Regions from separate parts of the Homo sapiens genome. Here region 1 is linked to region 2. Evidence: promoter capture Hi-C in 16 types of primary human blood cells and fetal thymus (Javierre and others, 2016). All regions are on one chromosome and are shown on one strand. The core of a region is centred on a gene start or on the middle of the fragment in contact, and the rest is flanking DNA. Distances in the headings are between cores, read along the strand shown.

Evidence for each region. Contacts are between HindIII fragments. The CHiCAGO score rates a contact against its expected background, and 5 or more counts as called.
Region 1: a fragment that was not itself captured here is called in contact with the fragment with the promoter of TMEM183A in region 2 in 3 of 17 cell types (fetal thymus, M0 macrophages and M1 macrophages); the score reaches 10.0 in fetal thymus.

The regions. Positions count from the first base shown.
Region 1 is chr1:203,267,561-203,271,201 of GRCh38, reverse strand. LOC124904486 (a long non-coding RNA gene) reads left to right here. Exons shown (of 2, transcript XR_007066798.1): 2 at 1-3,641. Among named protein-coding and RNA genes, the nearest start is that of LINC01353, 18 kb to the left of the region's middle. The HindIII fragment of the contact is 1,041 bases long and covers 1,090-2,130 here.
Region 2 is chr1:203,005,888-203,009,317 of GRCh38, reverse strand. It overlaps TMEM183A (transmembrane protein 183A), which reads right to left and starts at 1,944. Exons shown (of 8, transcript NM_138391.6): 1 at 1,744-1,944; 2 at 1,455-1,544; 3 at 508-675. The coding sequence starts at 1,852. It also overlaps the pseudogene MGAT4FP. RefSeq lists enhancers at 1,045-1,817, 1,818-2,592, 2,596-2,725, 3,367-3,430, a silencer at 1,636-1,885 and a cis regulatory region at 3,266-3,430. The HindIII fragment of the contact is 953 bases long and covers 1,452-2,404 here.

The DNA of each region.
Region 1 (3,641 bases), core at 361-2,860, 260 kb before region 2:
CTGAGTTCTGGCCAAAGAGAAGTAAGTAGACGCGTTATGCAGCAGTGTCTGGGAACCTTTCTTAAGACACAGGTTGTGCATCTGCTGTCTGCTCCTTCTTCTTTGTCCCTCCCTCTGTTTTGCTACTTGGTAGGCAGGTGCTACCTTGTACCATGAGGGCAAGGGCCACTCAATAACAACACAATTGCTGCTGTTGTGAATTTTCTGTTACTCTCATTTCTACCTCATCTTAACTGAGATGCCCTGTGATAGAGTGGGGGATTTGAACCTGAGTCAGTCAGCTGTTTCTCAACACAATGCGAGGTTTCTGGGTCCCCTGTGTGCTCCTGCTGTACCTCATCAGCTCTTAGGTGTGAAGCATCCCTTAGAACTCTGATGAGGTGGCGTTGAAGGAGGGGAGCCACTCTAATGCAGCTTTTCGAACTCATCCATTCCAAAGATGGCTCAGGGCCTTTGCTAGATCCAGAGGCAGCTTGAGGGCGAAAGTCCAGGGCCCTGAGAGGGTGGAAGAGGTGACACTTCTAAGATCCAGGAAACCCCAGCCTCTGCCACAAGACTGGCTGCACAGCTACCCCTGTGGCAGGTGAAGGCAGTGCTCAGGTAGTCCTGGGACTCTTTCTAAACTTCTCTGGCCTGGCCCTCAATGTCCTCTGACAGACTCTAGCTTGCTGGGACACCTCTAAGGAAACTGCCAAGGGAACTGCAGAAGCAGGAGCAGGTGAGAAGTGCCCGGGTGTCTTCTTTCCATGGGGGAATTTGGAGAAGCATTCTGAGCCCAGCAAAGTGTCAGGCAGGCAAGGTAAGGCCTCACCTGATAGGAGGTGTATCCTCGTACCTAGTCTCAGCAAGGAAGGTTGCCAGCTTCATGGCTCTTTTGAGTTAAAAGGGCTGTAAGATCCTTGGTAAACGACCAGAGCCTGAATGTCACAGGGAAGAGGTTGGACTGGGACCCAATACAGCTGCCTATGTATCTGAGAAGACGCTATTTATAAACAGAGAAGGTATTTATTGGCTGGACAATCCTGAGGAAGTCTCCCACTTCTCACTCTCATTCATAAAGTGGGGATCATGATCACTACCTCTCAAGCTTACTGTAACATTGAATGAGGTAATGAATATGAAAACACTCAAAATCTATAAAGTATCTACAAACCTGGAAGATTATAATTCTGCATTTGTACAGTAGAAATAACAGTACCATGGTTGCTATTAGTGCCCAGCCAAATCCCCTTTACTGGTCTGGTGCAACCCTCCATCCCTGCCCACCGGCTGCTGTGAGGTTTGGCTGGTAACAGTTCACAGTTATTCCCTCTGCAGAGACTTCCCCGGGAATGGAAGCTGCCTTACTTGGGGCTTGCAGCCGATGCTTGTCTGACACAGGGGCAGGAAAGGCCAGTCCCCGACCTCAAGACAAGATGAACTCTGGTGTAGCACATGCTTCAGGGATCCCCATGAAATCAGGCCGCAGCTCAGCCACAGCTGACACCACAGCCTGGCTCCCTCCTTCCCCACCCCACTCTCCTTCCTTTTCTTTCTTCTGAGGGTTCTTCCCCAACAGAAGAAGATATGCATGAAATCTGTCCCAGGCTCTGCTTTTAAGGAATCTGGTCCACTTGTCTGCCGTACAAAGTTGCTATGAGGGTTAAATAATATAATACAGATGAAGAGATTAGCCCAGTGCCTGGCATATACAGTGCATATCCAATTAATGTTAAAGATTGCCATTATCCATGAGACTGGAGCATCAGGAACATCTTAGTGTAATAGTGAGGTGTGGAAATCTGGTGAGTGAGTCAGTGGATTGAATTTTACATGCTTAGGGACTGGGGTGGGCAGAGAGAAGGGCAGCTGGGTTTCCTTGGGTATCACTGGTTGTCTCAGCTTTGGGCAGTGAGGGTCCTTTACACAGCTAGGGAAAAGTTCCAGTCATTACATACTTCTACCAGCAGAGGACGCCACTTCCATACAAATAAGTGTTTCCTCTGCTATCTGATGCAGTTTTCATCAAAGCAGTCTAGGCTGGCAGGAAAGATCAGGTACATGACAGAGCAGAAAGTGCCTTCAGATTTGCACAGATAATAGGAGAGGGCAGAACAGGAAGAAACAGTGAGTTAAGCTGTTCAGGAAGCTTCGTGGGAGGTGAGGCCTTGAGCAGGGCACTCTAGCACCAGAAGGAGTATTGAGTGGAGATGGCATTCCCAGGGAAGCCACTACCCTAGGCAAGGTGACCAGGGCCTGAGCCAGGGCCGTGGCAGGGAGGCAGCCACGAGAGGGTATGAAGGACACCAAACACAGGGACAGGACTGATTTCAGCTGAGAGGTCTAGGAGGAGATCATGGGCCCACCAACATGGGGTAGACGTCAGGAAGGAGCACGTTTTTATAGGACAGAGCACACTTCTCCAACTGGTTTGACTGCCCTGTTACAATGTCCTCTGCAAGCCATCATTCTGTAGGATTCCTGTTTTGTGTGGATTCTAGAAACCAGTGAAATATTCAGAGGTGTTAATAGCATCAAGATTTCATTGGTTCTTTCCATTCTTTTTATTTTTATTTTTTGAGATGGGGTCTCAGTCCCTGCCCCAGGCTGGAGTGCAGTGGCACCATCACAGCTCACCACAGCCTCAACACCCCAGGGCTCAGGCGATCCTCCTGCCTCAGCCTCCTGAGTAGCTGAGACCATAGGTACGTACCACCATGCCTGGCTAATTTTACATATATACACATATATGTGTGTATATATAATTATATACGTATATATACACATATATACATATATAATTATATACATATATACATATATACACACACATATATGTGTATATATATACACACATATATATGTATATATACACATATGTATATGTGTGTGTGTGTGTGTGTATATATATATATATATATATATATATATATATTTGAAGAGACAGGGTCTCCTTACGTTGTCCAGACTGATCTTGAACTCCTGGGCTCAAGCGATCCTCCTGTCTCAGTCTCCCAAAGTGCTGGGATTACAGACGTGAGCCACCGCGCCTGGCCAGCTTTTTCCGTTTTGAGTAGAGACGGCAAGAAGCGCCCCACAGCTTGCCCTTGCTTCGGAACTCGGGGTTGTGAATCAGTCAGGATAGAAATTAATGGTGCAGTGGGAATAAAGAGGAATGTTAGATGATCTCGCAGGGGTGGGGGAGAACCCAAAAAGAAAGAACGAACGTGAAGAAGCCTAGCTCTCCGAGACTGGGGTTCAGTCCTTGCTGGAGAAAGTGCGTTGCAGCCCATTGAGGGCAGAAGAGTTCTCTGGGTTGTCCCTGGACAGAACCGGGCCACAGTCAAGAGAGCGAACATTGTGGGGAAGAGAACGGCAGGCCACGGCTCAGGGGCTGGAAGCCCCCTGCTGGGGTGCCCACAAAATTCCTCCGGAAGTTGCTGTTGGGGGATGCGCTGAACTCATGGCAAAGCCACCTAGGACTCACGCAGAACTTGCTGGGAAGCTGCCCCCGGGGAAGTGCGCATGCGGGACTTCGCAGGAAACTGGCTGGGTCAAGTCGGCTCCACCAGGAATCCACCCAAGACGGTGCGGCTGAACTCGCCACTGGGAAACTAAGTGGGACACCCACAGAACTAGCCGTGAAGATGCCTGCGGAAGTG
Region 2 (3,430 bases), core at 695-3,194:
TATTTCCCACAATACTTATTAGACATAAAGCAGACATTACTAATTGCAGAGCACTTAAAAGCCCACGATAATGTCTATGTTTGTGTGTAACAAAACTAGTTAACGTAAAATCCACATACTTTGGAAAACATTTTTTGGTTACATCTCTGCTTCCTTACACATTCAGAAATCCAGAAATGCAAAGGCCTTTTATTTTCACATTGCCTTATGGGTTTTTACCTGATAATAACATGTTCTCAATGAAGGGCTACTAGAGTCCAGTTCACAGCTCCAGAACTCTACTAACACGTACTAATCTCTTTCCCTCTCGAATTCAGACAAAAGAAAAAAGAAAGCCCAGGTGTATTAAATCCCGGCCCACTACCAAGGTTCTTAGGGAGAGCCAAGTTTTCTTTAAACTCTCCTGGTATCACGTCTTATATCTCCTCCTGTGCTACTGGGAAAGTAACATCTTCAATTTGTCACCACAGGCAGGTCTAATAAACCAAAAGAGAACAAGCTCCATACCTTTGTGTCTCTTGCTTTTCTTTTTTCTGGAGACAGTTCTCTCATGGATGCTTTCCTCCTGGGCATCCATCTCATCACTGCTGTCGATGATGTCACAGGGCTCACCAGCCCCAGAAAGAGCTTCCTCTGCAGGAACCTGAGAGGCTTCCAAGCCACAAAGAGATTTTACTAGAAGAAAATAAAAGGAGAATGAGATGGCACACAGCTCCACCCAGAAATACAAACAACTTAGCCAAGGTATCAGCATCCATTCAGGAAAGGGGGGAAAAAAAACATCGTTGAGAGAGAAAGGTGAGAATCTGTCACCAAAAAAAATAAAGATTTTAGTATTTTAAATACAAAAAAAAAAAAAAAAAAGGAAAGCAATGGGCAAACTGACTCCAAAGTTGCAGAAACTCCTTTTTTCAGCCCTGAAGAAAAAAGGTGTGTACAATTTTTCCACTATAAACCCTGCAGGATAAAAGCTGATTTGTATTCTCATAAGGTCTACAGAGAAATGTTTGAGACAAATTGAATCCAATTTAATCCTGGTCCTGAGCTGGAGGCAGTAGGTGTCATAAAACACAAGTCTCAGACCCATGAGTAAACAGACTGAAAGCAAGAGAAACACCAGAAAAGGAAAAGAACACTCCAAGGTTATTAAACAAGGAAGCAAACTGCAGAGTAAAACATGTGAACTACAGCAAAGAGATTAATAACCAAGAAGAATGCAGTGGAAACTAAAAAGTATGCAAACATGTTTTTAAATGCAAAGAAAGAAAGAAAATATTTCTGCTACAGAAACTGCTACTCTTGACTAATCCTCCTCCACCCCAATATGTAAGTTAACACTAACGAAAGCAAACACGGTTACAGGAAGACGACTAAAGGACTGCAAGAAAAACAGAAATAAAATACCTAGTTCTGTCTTCGCGGCATGAGTCTTTAAAGGCTCGCGCAAAGCTTACCTTCCTGCTGAACAGCGTTGGCTACGGCTTTCTTGACTCGTCCAGACCTCACGACCGCCGGATCCGAGTTGGCGTAATCCGCCACGGTCACTGCAACACAGCACCAACCCTCAAGGAAGAGGCCTTCTCTCGTCAGCGTCTTCCCCGCCAACACCTCCTCCTCGCTGCAGGCCCCCGGACCGAGCCGCCCTCCAGCCGCGGGCACGCGAGCGCTCACCTCGGCACGGTCCAGCCCCCTCCCAGCCGCCAGCCCCCAAAATGTTTCAGCGCCCCTGCCCCCCTCGCCCACCTCGGCCGGAGCAGGCGTCGTGGGCCCGGAACTTGAGTCGCTTTCCTCTCTTGGGCATGGCGACCGTATCGGGGCGAGGCCTGCCTAGCGGGCCGGGCCCCCGGGCCATGTCTCCGGCCGGAGAGCCGGCCCCGGGAGCCGCAAGCCAGCTCCGCCCGGCTCCGCGGCCATCCCACACCGGAGGCCGCTAACTCTCGCGAGAACATAGGTCCGGGTTCCGAGTCGCGTTGTCGGACGACGCCTCTCCACGCGAACCAATCATCGCCAGGTGCAAGGATACGTCATCATCCGGCACCCGCGAATCAAGCTGGGTCCGGGTTCCAGGTGGAGAGAGAGCTGTTGTACTGGGTGGTGTCGCGTATCGCCGTACCTCGTGTGAGATGAATGGTGTCTCAGAACCATAGCCCACACCTGTGTTGATTAGAATTGAGAGTTTACATCCTGGTCTCCGGGATTCTTCTTAGTAACTCCTCTGTCCACACTCCAGGTCCACTTCAGCACCAAAATGCATATACACTGTCATCTTCGTGCTCTATCTCGGACCACAGAGACTGAGCGCCTGCTAGTCTAACATAGGTCTGTAAGAGTCTTCACTCTATTTTACGAAAGCTATAAATAAATTTCTGAATTCTCAAAATAGGAGAAGGAGTTCTTAAAAGCTTCCAATCGGCCGGGCGCGGTGGCTCACGCCCCTAATCCCAGTACTTTGGAAGGCCGAGGCGGGCGGATCACGAGGTCAGGAGATCGAGACCATCCTGGCTAACACGGTGAAACCCCGTCTCTACTAAAAATACAAAATATTAGCCGGGCGTGGTGGCGGGCGCCTGTAGTCCCAGCTACTCGGGAGGCTGAGGCGGAAGAATGGCATGAACCCGGGAGGCGGAGCTTGCAGTGAGCTGAGATCGGGTCACTGCACTCCAGCCTGGGCGACAGAGCAAGACTCCGTCTCAAAAAAAAAAAAGTTTCCAATCTATCACCATATAAGGTTAGCCGAGAGAAAGGACGAAAGAGAGACCCAAGGTCAGCCGAGGAAGTTTATTAACCTGACGGCTGCTCCACCACAGACAGAGGAGGCACCCCTGAGCTTACAAAATGAGGGGTTTATATGGGGGAGAGAGACCCTGGGGTTGTTTGCTGGTTAATTTTGCCACATATTAGCTTGTGACGTTTATTACAGGAGGGTGTAGGTAAAGTTTGTTTATGCTTCCCATCACCTTCCCCTGTGCGGTCCGGATGATTTGTAATTGGGGTTTGTTTATTGCAGCAAGGTCTGATAAGTGAAGTCTGCTGGCTTCATAAGGACTTAGAAGTGTAAAGAGGCTTGGGGGAAGGAGAAGAGTTGCAGAGCATTAGGGGGAGGAGTGAGCAGCACGGAGAGGTTTGGGGGAAGTGTCGGCAGTACCAAGAAGCTTTTTGGGGCAGTTTGTTCCTAACACACCATACCTCCAAAAAACTACTAGAAGCATCCATGAAAAACTATCGCAGAGGCAGGAAGGTCACTTGAGTCCAGGAGGTCAAGGCTGCAGTGGGCCATGATTGCGCCACTGCACTCCAGCCTGGGCTACAGAGCGATACCCTGCCTCAAAAAAAAAAAAAGGAGAAAAAGAAAAAATAACGTCTTTCCTTTGTATTGAGACAGAAGCGAGTCACTGAGTGAAGATTACAGAACTGTAAGGGAGCAGGACCC